Linked DNA regions of Homo sapiens: regions 1 and 3 are each linked to region 2. The links are contacts of gene promoters, found by promoter capture Hi-C in human tissues and cell types (Jung and others, 2019). All regions are on one chromosome and are shown on one strand. The core of a region is centred on a gene start or on the middle of the fragment in contact, and the rest is flanking DNA. Distances in the headings are between cores, read along the strand shown. Region 1 has its middle 37 kb from the start of MYRIP. Region 2 holds the start of MYRIP (myosin VIIA and Rab interacting protein). Region 3 overlaps MYRIP (myosin VIIA and Rab interacting protein).

Region 1 (4,290 bases), core at 1,225-3,724, 36 kb before region 2:
TCCCCTACACCAACTTCCATAATCATGCATTTTTCATTCATATCAAAGACAAACAAAAACTTAGGTCTTAACACATCCCATCATAGCTAATGTCAGGTGAGTGCTTTCTATATGCCAGCCACTGATCTAAGATCTCTATATGTGTTACCCTACTTAGCTCTTACACAAATGGGGGAGGTGTTACTAGTATCAATGTAAACTGCTCTGGAGCATAGAAAAAAGAAATTATACTTTCAAACTCTTTTTTTGATGCCAATATTACTCATATAACAAAGCCTGACAAGGAAGGAAGGAAGGAAGACAGGCAAGCTTTAAACCAATCTTGTTTATAAATAGCGACAGGCAAGAACAATGTAAGAACACTTATTATCACTATAATTACATAAAAATATATTTAATATAGCTAATACCCCATATAATGAAATGAGATAAAGAACAACAGGTATAAATATTGGACTACTAGAAAGACATAGACAAAAATATTAGTATGTGTGGATGATACAATATTCTCATCCATGAACCTATCTAATAATATACAATATTATACCCAAGAATCTAAGCGGTCCATTGTATTTTAAAACTCAGTGACCATATTTTTTCCTCCAAGGCATTTTTCTCTGATGTAGAATATCACTGAGTGTATAAAGATGCATCTTAGAAAAAGTCAAATTCGTAAGAATTTGTTCTGATACCTCAGATTGGTCTGCTTTCTTTTAATTGCTAACCCTTTTTTACATGTGGTTTTTCTCAGTTTGTTTATTCACCAAAAGGACCCATCTAGGTGTGTCCAATATTGACAGTTGAGAAAATTCTGCCATGACTCAGGTGGGACCATGTTGTCACATTTAGTTCCAGAGATAAACTTTATATTTACAGTGGCTTAATATTGTTGTATTGGGGTCTTTGGGGGCTAAACAGTGAAGAAAGGAAGGCATCAGCTCAAAAGCTGAATGAAAGAAAAATTGATCAGTATTCTGAAAGGTGGCTACTCAAACTCAAGTTGACTGGGTTATTCTTCCCTTTTCAAACTATTTCCGTGATGATAGGTATTTTAGGTGAATTTGTATATTAGTAAAATATAGTGTTGCCACATGTGTACCTCTCTGTAGATAGAACCAAAAAATAATTTTTTGAACTGCTAGAATATTTTTTTAAAAAGGAAGAAATCATACAATGATTACTTGCTATGATTTTGGTGGTAAAGTCAACTCTCTAATACATTAAATTGTAAAGATTTTAAAGGCAATATGCATCTTAGCTGAGAATCCTAAAGTAGGAATACACAGAAGGAGTGTGGGATGGTAAGGAAGCAAATAATCTTGCAAAGTATTTTCAACTCTCAAAAAATAAACTTGAAGCAGTAAGCTGTGCCACAACAGGAAATATTAGAGCTACACCAAATGCTCATTAAACATATCATCAACTGCTCTGAACAAAGCTGGGATTTACTTTCTGGGAAGCAGTGATATTTCCAGAAAATAAAAATGTAAATATCATTTTTACCTATTAACTCTAATTTGAGAATTACAAATTAATTACAAAAAATAGAAAAGATCAGAAGAAAAAGTATCAGAGTGCAAGTCCATTTTCCTAGTTCTACCACTTGGCTTTGTGAGCCAAGAAAAGTTACTTAACTTTCTGAGCCTAGGCTTTGAAATGGAAGCACTAATAACAATAATGTAGTGATAGACTATTGTTAAGGTGAATAAAAGAAAGGAGTAGATATAGTACAGCACCTTTTTGCAAGAGAAATAATGAAAGAAGACATTGTACGTGTACCTGCTCATTTTTGAAAAAGTACAGACAAGAAGGACAAACCAAAAACTAACAAAATTGGTTACCTCAAGGATATGAATGGGAATGGGGTAGAAGGGTTGGGGAGCATGAGGCAATACTTCTCTGATTAGTTGGTTTGCTGTAATTTCATCTTTGGAGTCATGTTTGTGTTTTATAGAAATAAAAAATAAAATTAAAATATTTACAAGGATGAGAGAGGAAACCCTATAATGAATGCAAACAAAAAGAAATATATCTAACTGTATTCCAAATGAATAGCATCACTAAACTGAAGGTGAAAATAAGAAGAACTCACCCAAGTAACTTTTTAAACACAGTATTTTGACTATATGCCTTCAGAGTAAGCTAAAAAAGAACCGTAAAGAAATACTGAACTATAGTTAGCAAAGTTTGTTTTTTTCCCCATAGTGGTACGTGTTAGCAATTCTAAAACTACTTTTTATGCATTGTAATTTTGAGATAAGTAAATATATTGAGAATGAGGAAGCTAAAATGAAATCTGTGGTGCTGGATTGAAATTGAAAGTTTCTTTTTATTATTGGCACAAACTCATGATATATAACATAGAGACAGACAGACAAATAGAAATGTGTGTACATTTACATGTACATACATATATTTTCTAGCTCTGTCTACTGAGAGTCTAGAAGCCATGACAAAGTATTAATAGTAGCAGTGAGCACACCAACTGCCCAGATCTTGGTTTCTAAATACCATTCTCTAATAAAAGAAACCAATGGTCCTTGGAAAATGGTTTGTTGCACAACAGGAGCTGGGAGAATACAAGATGACCCCTGAACATGTTGTGTCAGAAAGTGAAAGGATGCTCAAAATCTGATAGAGACATGATAAACAGACATGAGAGCTAACTTAAAGGAGCATGATGGGCTAATTATGGTACAATTTGAGTACTAAATAAAATAATGACAATAATCAATTAGAACATGCTGAATTAAAAGATACAGTGATACCCCAAAATAGAAACATAAGAGAAAAAAAAGCCTCACGTTTTATAGAAAAACACTAGCTAATAGATTTAGAAAGAATAATAATAGTAGGGAAAATCATTTTACAACTCCAATGTAATAATTGATTTAGGCAAGAATTATCAGTGGATGCTAACACCATTAGGTAAAAACTTTTGGGGAAACAACATATTCACATGGTCTCCAATTATCTCCTTTTTTTCCTGTAAGTGACTTCTCAATTGCAAAAGAGTAAGTTACCTCTTTAATGAGGGATGTCGAAAAATTACTTTCACTTAAGAAAGTTACCTATAGTAACTAAGAGCAAATAGCATAAAGAGAAAGAATAAGATATACAGGTCAACTCTCTAATGTTCAAGATTATTACACATACCATTGCCTTTGCAATAACACAAGAAATAGAGTTATAAGATGTAAATATTTTTCTGAATAGGTTAAGCTATCTGTGGATGTCATTGTGCCTAGATATTCAAGAGAATCGAAGACAGAAGATAAAAGGTTGATAAATTTGAAAACACTAAAATTCCAATTTCTTGAATAAGTTGGATTATAACTCAAAGAATAAAACAAATATTTATAAAGCTATGCCAACACAAATAAACAATTGAATGAATAAATAAATAGAGGAGAAGGGATAAAATGTCTTTACAAAAAAAAAAAAATCAAATAAATGTAGATTTTTCTCCCCGATCCAGGAAGTGAAGCTCAATTTCCTTCTTCTTAAGTGTGGGCTACATTTAATGACTTGCTTCTGACATATAGAGAATGAAAAGGGGGAAAACAGTGACTTTAAGCAGAGAAATCTGGCAGACATTACCTTAACCAAGTGATCGAGGTTAACATCACCAGTTATCACATCGTATCTGAGGGTACATAATATCAACATGACTATAAGTCATCATGTGATGAGGAGACATCTTCACCTCTGTCATGATCTTCCCCCAAATCCGTAACATCAGTCTAATCATGAGAAAATATCAGACAAACCCAAATTGAGGAACATTCCACAAAACACCTGACAAGTACTGTTCAAAAGTGTCAAGGTCATGAAAACAAGGAAACACTAAAAATTGTCAGATTATAGGAGAAAAATGAAACATGATGACCATATGTAACATGGTATGCTAGATGAAATCTTGGAACAGAGAAAGTACATTAGTATGAAAACTGAAGAAATTCAAATAAAATCTGTAAATTAGTTAATAGTATCATAAGAAATGTTAATTTCTTACTTTTGACAAATGTTTAATGATTGTATAATATGTTAACATTAGGAGAAGCTAGGTTAAGAGTACACAGGAAGTCTCTTGCTATCTTTGCAATTTTTCTCTAAATCTAAAATTATTTGAAGATAAAAGTTTTTTTTAACAAGCTTGATAATGATAAAAATTACTTGGATAAAATGTTGTACTAGAAAACCCCACCACAAATATAATACAGTGACAGAATTGAAATATTTACAATATGCATTGTAATAAAGTCATCACATAATGTAATATCTAAAGTT
Region 2 (4,188 bases), core at 7-2,506:
TAAAATTTAAATTTAATGTAAACAAAAGAGAAACAAACTAACTTCCTTCCACTTTACCAGTTTGTAGACATTAAAATCCCTTTAAAGGAGGGAATCGAATCTTTAAAGAAATTAACTCCTTTACCTTCCGAGTTCCTTTCTTTAAGGTTTTGTCTTGTTTTGTTTTGTTTTCTGCTGTGGACTGATCAGCAAACAAGCCATTTATTTCTACTGCGCACATTTACACGGAGAGAACAGCCTCAACCCACCGGCTTGAGAGGATTTCCAGGGATTCAGAAATCGCCAGTGTAACTCCATAAATGCTTTATTTTCATGGAGCGACTTCCACCCTGCAGCTAAAATTGACAAAGTGTTTTCACAGCCGAGTTGTTGGGGCTGAGGCAGTGGGTCTCAGGAAGATCCCTGGCTTAATGGATGCAAACGCACAATGAAGTCCCGGCCTGGAGTGGAACCTTTCAACTCCCAGTCATTCTTCCAGGACCGGGAACTCCTGGCACGAGCCCGAAAGCGTTCCTCACTTGCAGCAGTCTTTGGGAGTCTTTCTGACAGCGCGGGCTCACTAACCCGGCGGTTCCGCAGCTGTGTTTGGGAGACTTGGGGGCGCATTAGCCTGGACAGCTCCCTGATCGGTAACCCCTTTGATGTGTGTTGAATGAATGAGCGTCGTTAGCGTAGTAGTAAATTTATGGGAGAATTAAAGCAATCCAGATAGGGGTCACTACGGAGACTTTAATTACCCAGGGACTGTGAAGTGGGGAAGAGCTGTCTGTGGAGGAGCGCCACACCATGTCTTAGATTCAGGCAGGCCCCGGATTCTGGTGACCCATTACTCTACGGTCACTGAGGGTCCGGGCCCCCAGGACTCAGAGGCAGGAGACAGGAAAAGCCTGACTTAGAATCGGGGAAGGACCTGGAGTCGCACATGGGGGCTCCCGAACCGCGGCCCCAATACTGCACTGCGCCGCAGGGAAGAGCCCCGGGAGGGGCGCGGGTCCCCGCCCCGGGCGCGCGCAGCCCTGCCCCGCCTCCTCCCGGTGCGCCCCGCCCCTCCCGGCGCGTGCCGCCCGCGCGCCCGAGGTGCTCTGGAGGAACCGGCCCGGCGGGCACCCCCTGCCCCGGCGCAGGCGCGATCGCGGGCCGCCCCTCCCGCCGGGCGCCCTGCACGCGCCCCCGCCCCGCCTCCGCAGGCTCCCCCGCTCCGGGCGCCTCTGATTGGCTCTCGGCCGGGCCAGCAGGTGTCGGCGGTGGCTGCGGCCAGGCTGGCCCTGGCTGCCTGCGGCGCGGGCGCCTCCCTCGCAGCCGCTGCTGCCGACGCCGCTGCGCTCCCGCCTCCTGTCGGTTCCCGGGTTCCCGCTGCGGCTGCGGTTCTGGCAGCCGAGCCCCCGCGGTGCTGCAGCCCAGCTTTAGCGCGCAGACCGACCCGCGCCCCTTCTTCGCCGCCGGCAGCCTCTAATCCACGCGGCGCGTTGCGGCAGGTGCCCTGGGCGTACTGAGGCGCGGTGGCCTGAGCCCGGCCGCCATCGATGACCCCGGTCGCGGACTTGCTTCAGGCTGGCCACCCCCCGTGAGTACCGTCCGCCTCCCTCTTCTCCCCTCTGGCAGCTTTGCGCCACTCTCCCCTCAACGTTGCCGCAACTTCGGGGGTGGGTGTGTGAAGGTGTGGAGGTGTCTCTCACGCTCCCCCGCACCCTGTGCGCGTCCGGAGCCAGGAACCCTAGGCGCGGCCAGTCAGCCTCTGCGGAGGGGCGAGGGGCGCGGGTACTTGAACTTGCTCAGGGATCATCGCGGAGCCAGAATCGCCTCTTTCTCTCGCTGCTGGGGTGGGAGCTCGCCTCTGCGTTTCCCTCGCGTTTTCCGATCCCGGATGGCCACGTAGTGCTTGGGCTGCGGTTCACCGCGTACCTACTGTGCTGCGGGCGCACCGGCGGGACGCCTCAAACCATCCGTTAAGCGCCCCGCAAGCAGCCCAGCGCGACGGACCTGACTCAAACTCTTAATTCTGTAAAACGGGGGTAATCAGGGACTCTCTCAAGGTCACAGCTGGTGCTCAGAGTTAGAACACAGGTGGATTGCGTCTGGCCCTCGCCCGCGGGCTGCCTGGGGAGGGGAGAGCTGTTGGCGGGGCGGTCACTTCAGCTTCATCCCGGGTTCCTCCTCATACTCCCTTTCCGCCACAGCCGCCAGACTTGAAGAGGTAGGGAGCCAATCCCAGGGGGCTCTACATAGATTTGGAGGTAACGGCGGAGGATCTTCCTGATGGACGCGTGGAGCGGAAAGATTCAGTGGTGGGAACCCCAAGACCTGCGGCTTTTTGGAGCACTTGCTCCCCTTCTTGTTCCTTAATTTACTGACGTCTTGGCAGGGTAGGGGAATTTGTTCTTATATCCGTCCTGCTCCTCTTTTCTTTTGCCAAATAAGCACCGTCCCCAAGGATAAGTACGTATCCCAAAACTCTTAAATGCACACACTGGTTTGGGCCTAGGGACTTCCTAAGAGAAGCGAGTACGCTGTGGGCTTGGTTCGCTAACGTTGGCTCCTATCCGCTCCTAGAAAATGCCTTGAGTCTGGCTTCATTTCCATGCTCTCCATCTCCCCGACCATGATCTCGATTTGTTGATTTTCTTGACACTTACTCAGGGGAGGAAGACTGAGACTGGGGGCTGGCCAGTCTTGGGGTATGCAAATGATGTCGGGTGTGATTCTTTTACTCCAGGTCCTTTGAGGTGGCTCCAGTGGGGCCGCCTGTGGTGTTGTGGGCGCTTCTCAGAGCTCTGGGCTGGGGAGAGCGTCACCTAGCCTCTCTTGCCATTATCACCTTGTCCCTTCAACTCAGCCTCCCCCACCCCAACTCTGAAACTCAGCCATGAGATCAATACTTAGTTTTGTGATGACTGACCAGCATCTTTGAACCTGAACTTTTTCATTTATAAAATGAAATAATCCCCGCCGCCTTTCAATCTTCCCAAGGAACTTGGAGTTCATAGGATATGATAAATGTGAAAATGCACTGGGGTTTTATTAAAAAGTCGAAGGAAGATGGTTCAAGGCATCTGGGTCTACGGTGGAAATGGAGGTAATTTAAAAAATTTTACAGCAATATCTGGGACCCTATTTGCAGATTTCAAAATCTTTTTAGAGAAATTTAGTTTCCCAAGACTTTGAAGATACTGCTTTCCATCTTCCTGCTCACGTTCCTTTGCCTGGCCATGGGCAGCTGCGTCTCTCCTAATTACCCACCACTACCTCCATCTGCGAGCTGTCTCTGTGGGCCAGAAGCTGTGTCTGTGGGACTGTTTCTGGAGAGTGGGGGGAGGCTGTGTGTGTGTGTGTTGTCTCTGAGGAGTCAAAGTGTGTCTCTGTAGAGATGGTGTGTATCTCTTGGTGGCGCAGTGTTCTGTGTGGTCTGGGTTTCGTTTGTCTGCGTGTATGGTGGTAGAAGGGAGAGTTATCCGGCTGCAGAATTTGTTCACTTTTGAGAAAGTGAAGTGTTAGCCATACTCAGCTCAGTCATTTAAACTAGCGGTAGCATAGATTATGTTCTATCTCCTTCCTCCCTGCCCAGAGGGATTCCCGATGGCTGAAAAATATCCCGTAGAAAACAAGGCTTCCCCCTGATTTTGCCTTCGAATTATTATTGTGTATGCACAGACTCTTGCCGGAAAGCCAAGTTAAAGGGAGATGACTGATCAGACCTTGGTGAATTTAACAGTCTGTTGAAGTATAATTCCAGAAAATAATGCAGTTCTGAAGGATACACTCAGTGGATTGTCACAACTGAGCACACCTGTGTAACCAGTGCCCTGATTAAGACCCAGAATATTTCCAATCTTCCCATTACCCCTACCTACAGGCACTATCCTCCAAGGGTAGCCATCATCCTGCTTAGTTTTATCAGGTTAGTTTTATTTTTATTACTATTGTTATTTATTTTATCATTTTAGTTCCCAAGCTAAAATGAGACTTCTTGATGATTTTCTACCTCCTTTTTAATAAATGCAATCCAAGAGTAGTTATACTTAAGCCAGTACAGAAAAATAGAAGGAATAATTTAGCCTTACAATCTGGGTGAAGAATGACTTGGTTGTCCCACCACACCTTGATCATTAGTTATTTGGTGGTGTAACAAACCTGATCCCAGATGTAACAGTGCTGACATTGGTCAATGGCGGCTGGTTTGTTCCCATAAGA
Region 3 (4,181 bases), core at 491-2,990, 38 kb after region 2:
GTTTTGAAGCATTTAAAATGACAACATGGATGGCGATTAGCATAGAAGTTGGAAGAGTTCCCACTGTTCAGCAGGAGTTAACAAAGGTGGTCCCCTGAACTCTCTCAACTCTTGGAAAAGCTTCATTCCTCTCTCCTATCCCAGTCATCAAAGCTTGCAGACACCATCTGCCTTGGTACCATCAGGGCCAATGTTATCATTCCTTTAATCTTAGTTCATTAATTTCCACAAGAATCCCAGGTCTCCTAGATCACCCTGCATTCCCTTGGACTCTGATCCCCACTCACCTATGTACACTCCTTCGTCTGACCCTGTCTCCCACCTTTCCTTTTCCCTATGAGGGCTGTGAAGGTTGATCATCAGCAGTATCCCCTGGATCATCTTCCCAGATGTGCATTTCATTTCCTTCCCTTTCTCTCTCCCAAGTAGATGCTGTTTCTATCCAACTACCACTGGGCCTGCAGGTGTTAGAAGTGCCTTCCTTGTTCCTCATTGTTGCTTTGAAGTTGTTCAGGCTGCCACCTCTATATAGCAAAACAAAAACTGTGTCATCAGATGCTATTATCTACTTTCCTCCCTTATTGCACTTCCCTGCTGATCCCTAAATCCTTTCCTCTAATTCTGTTAAGATTAATGTTAGGGTTCTTGAGAGAAACAGAATCAATACAATATGCATATTTATAGAAATAGATTTATTTTAAAGACTTGGATCCCATGATTATTGAGGTTGGTGAGTCCAGCATTTGCAGTGTGGGCCAGCAGCTTGAGACCCAGGAGAGCTGATGGTAAAGTTCCCATTGGAAGGCTAGCAGGTGGACACCCAGGAGAGCAAATTGTGCATATGAAATCTGAAGGCAGTCTGCTGGAGAATCCTCTCTTGCTCAGGGAGCTCATTCTTTTTGTTCTATCCAGACTTTGCACCAACTGAGTTAGGTTGATTCACATTAAGCAGGGCAATCTCTTTTACTCAAAGTTTAATGCCAAGCTCATCCAAAAACACCCTGCAAGTTGACACATGAAATTAATAATCACAGGTCCATCCTTTATCAACTTGGCAACCATATGCATCTCTTTAACCCATACTTAATCTCCAAATAAAGACAATAACAAGGTCATACTTCCACCTTTTATGATAAAGATATCCTGCATGCAACTGAAAACTCACTAACCCTTTCCCCAGAAGAGGATGCAAAGTCTTGGATGATGTTCACTCTTGTGTATCCCATAACTTTAAATACTGTGATGTAAAGTTAACTCTACTTAAATGCTATGCTATAAAGTCAGTACATGATAAGGAGGTAAGAAAGAGAAGAAAACAAAGGTATTTGTTTTCTTCTCTTCATGTTCATAACAAAATAAGGAAGAAATACTCATGATAGTTACACTTCTTGTTTCTGTAACTGGTTGTATAGTCATAGCTGGTACTCATAACTACCCTCTTCCACTAGCAAGCCCATATGCTCCTTGCTCTCAACAAGTACCTCAACAGGTCATAGTTCTTTACCTTCTTTTCTTGATGGCACTGCTTCTGGGTTAATTCTCAGTGATTTTGATACCCACAGAGATGATCCTTTTAAGGCCCAGGCCTCTTGGCTGCCTGGCCTCCTCTCTCCAGTGGCATTGTCCTCATCTACTGTATTTCTGGAAACTCATTCCTTCTTTTGTATGAATGCTTCCATATATGCCCTCCCTGAGCCTCTCTGGCTGGAGTTCATAGTAGCGTTTGCTGCCTTAGTAGTTTCCATGCAGGACCATGTTATCTGTTATCCCCCTCACCCCCCAAGGATTTCCCTGAATCCCAGTCTTTCTCTGAGTCTTTCTCTATGTTTATGAGTAAACCTGGGCATGATTAGGGCTGCAGCAATCACACAGCTCTCTGAAGAACTGCTCTGACTGATACTCATCGTAAGCACCTTCCTGCCCTCCAAAATTGTAATACCGTTGAAGGCTAGAGGGTACTGCAAAAGCTTCCTCCAACATGCTGGTGGGGTTAGGAGTGGAGAAGAACAAATGAGCAGCCTTCTAGTGTTATAGACGCCAGACTGTGAGTCCCAGCTGAGCCTCACAGATAAGTTTCTCTGCAGTGTTGGAGCCACACGGGTGTAGTGTTGTATCCTGCCTTCCTACTCAGCATCATTTAAATGTTTCCTCATGCTATTGCAAATGCTCATTATAGATATTCTTAATGGCTGCTTCATATGTCATTGAATGATTGTACTGTATTTGCATAAAATTGGAAAGGTACTTTTTATTTTTTTAAAATAAACCAGAATACAAGCCTAATACTTCAATCATTTATCAAAATACAGAGTTCTGTGTTCCCCTTTAATAAGTTACACTCATTTTTAAGAAAGAAAGTAGGATATTAAATAGTTTCCTTTTGCTTATTTTGACTCCTCTTTACTTTTTCTGCTATTTCAGTGGAGAGGCCTTGCCTTTCCCTTGTAAGGGAAGTTCTACTGATTATTGTTCATACATAGTCACATGACACTGCTAAGAATATCTGCATGACACATGTAAGAAAGGAGGCTAAGCTACTTAAGAGCTCTCATGAGCATGTACTTTCAGATGACAAATATTTAAGGGTGAAATAAAAGTGAAGTATATCAGAAATCCATGTCAGACATGTAAACATGTTATACACTTGAGATTCATCAGTATTTTGATTAATAGATACTTTTCCTTATTTTTGAAGGCAAATGCACAAAACTTGGAATTTTCAATTAAGATGACCTCTTCCCTAAACGTGTTGCTAAATTTTTATGCCACGAGAGAGGGAAACATTGTGAGTTTTAATAATTTATATCTCTGTGGTAAGGAGGAGTTGGAAAAAAAAGAGCAGACCTAGGAAAAATATGCCATAGCATGTTCAGACCTCTGTATCAAATGTGCACAGGAGTAACGTATTTTGAAAGAAGGGAATTAATTCATTTTAATGTATTCTTCCAGTTCTGTGAGTCTCTAGGAGAATTTTTTATTCTATGGAACACATTACTAGGATGTAGAGGGTACATCTGTCTATCCTATAGGATATAGATATAGGTAAACCACAGCATTGAAGTAGGAGCAGACAGAAAGGACAAAGGACCCAAAATGATGGGCTACAACTTGCCTTGTCCTCTTTCCAAACCACGCTGTCCACTGTAATCCTAAAGTGGGGTCCCATATTCCAGTACCAATGGATGACGGAATAAGGAAAGAAAAAAAATTTCCCAGGATGCTTTGGGTAGTCTGAAGTTGGATACAAATAGATAAAGCCACCTCTGTGCTTCTCATTTATTTCCGAGTCTAATACTGAAGCCATCAAAACAACTACATTTTTATGAAGTAGTTTTAACCATCCAATGGAAAAATTGTGCCAGGGTAATACTGGCAAGTTGTTTTCTCCGGTCCACGGGATGTGATGGATGACCTGGGGAGACAGAGGTCCAGCCTTCCCGGAGTGGAGATGGTGAGAGGTTCATCAGTAGCTACAGGCATGTCATGGTGATCACACTGGTAATTTGTAAGTTATAAATGTGAACTTGTAAGTTGTCTCTTAGTTGTGTAAATTTGTTAAAAGGAGGATTTTTGGGGACAGTAAATTGAAGATTTTGTGTTCTTGGCAGTTGCTAGTCCTCGGGTTTTCTACAACTCAGTGTCATCTAAGTCAGATGAGAGTTTCTTCTACAGTGTAGAGAGATGATGATTCTCCCATAAATAAAACTGAGCTCTGAGGCTCTAGGAGGAAAAAGAAAGCCTGACCCTTTTGACTTATAAGTGTGGGTAGGAGAGAATTAGTGACTGCCAAGAACAAAACATTGTCAGCTACCTGTTCCTAAAATGTCCTCCCTCTAACAAACTTAAATGACTAAGAGACAACTTTAAAAGTTCGGATTTATAACTTAGAGATTATCAGGATGGTCACCACGACATGCCTGTACTTCCTGAGAGGGAAGGCACAGAGGTCAAGAGTGTGTGTTCTGATGTTCCTCTTCCTAGAGTAGGGTGTCAGAGAGTATGAGTGTGTGTCTCACAGGGAGTCGAGTAGAGGACTAGTCTAGGGGGAAGCTGCAAACCTCTCCAGGAAGCTCTATTTGTAACCGCATGCTCTGTGACCCAAGAACAACTGTAGTTCATTGACTGGGAAGCTGTCTATCAGGTTTCTACCAAGCATTCTCTGGCTCCTGCCCTTCTGCCTC

The links. Contacts are between HindIII fragments. The study calls those that stand out against the background at their distance.
Region 1: a contact is called between a fragment that was not itself captured here and the fragment with the promoter of MYRIP in region 2, in 4 of the 25 tissues and cell types used here (hippocampus, pancreas, psoas muscle and 1 more).
Region 3: a fragment that was not itself captured here is called in contact with the fragment with the promoter of MYRIP in region 2 in 3 of the 25 tissues and cell types used here (bladder, pancreas and small bowel).

The regions. Positions count from the first base shown.
Region 1 is chr3:39,770,638-39,774,927 of GRCh38, forward strand. No RefSeq gene overlaps it. Among named protein-coding and RNA genes, the nearest start is that of MYRIP, 37 kb to the right of the region's middle. The HindIII fragment of the contact is 6,388 bases long and covers 1-4,290 here.
Region 2 is chr3:39,808,353-39,812,540 of GRCh38, forward strand. It overlaps MYRIP (myosin VIIA and Rab interacting protein), which reads left to right and starts at 1,257. Exons shown (of 17, transcript NM_015460.4): 1 at 1,257-1,564. The HindIII fragment of the contact is 15,982 bases long and covers 1-4,188 here.
Region 3 is chr3:39,846,075-39,850,255 of GRCh38, forward strand. The region is part of intron 1 of MYRIP (myosin VIIA and Rab interacting protein); the gene reads left to right. Among named protein-coding and RNA genes, the nearest start is that of MYRIP, 39 kb to the left of the region's middle. The HindIII fragment of the contact is 6,157 bases long and covers 1-4,181 here.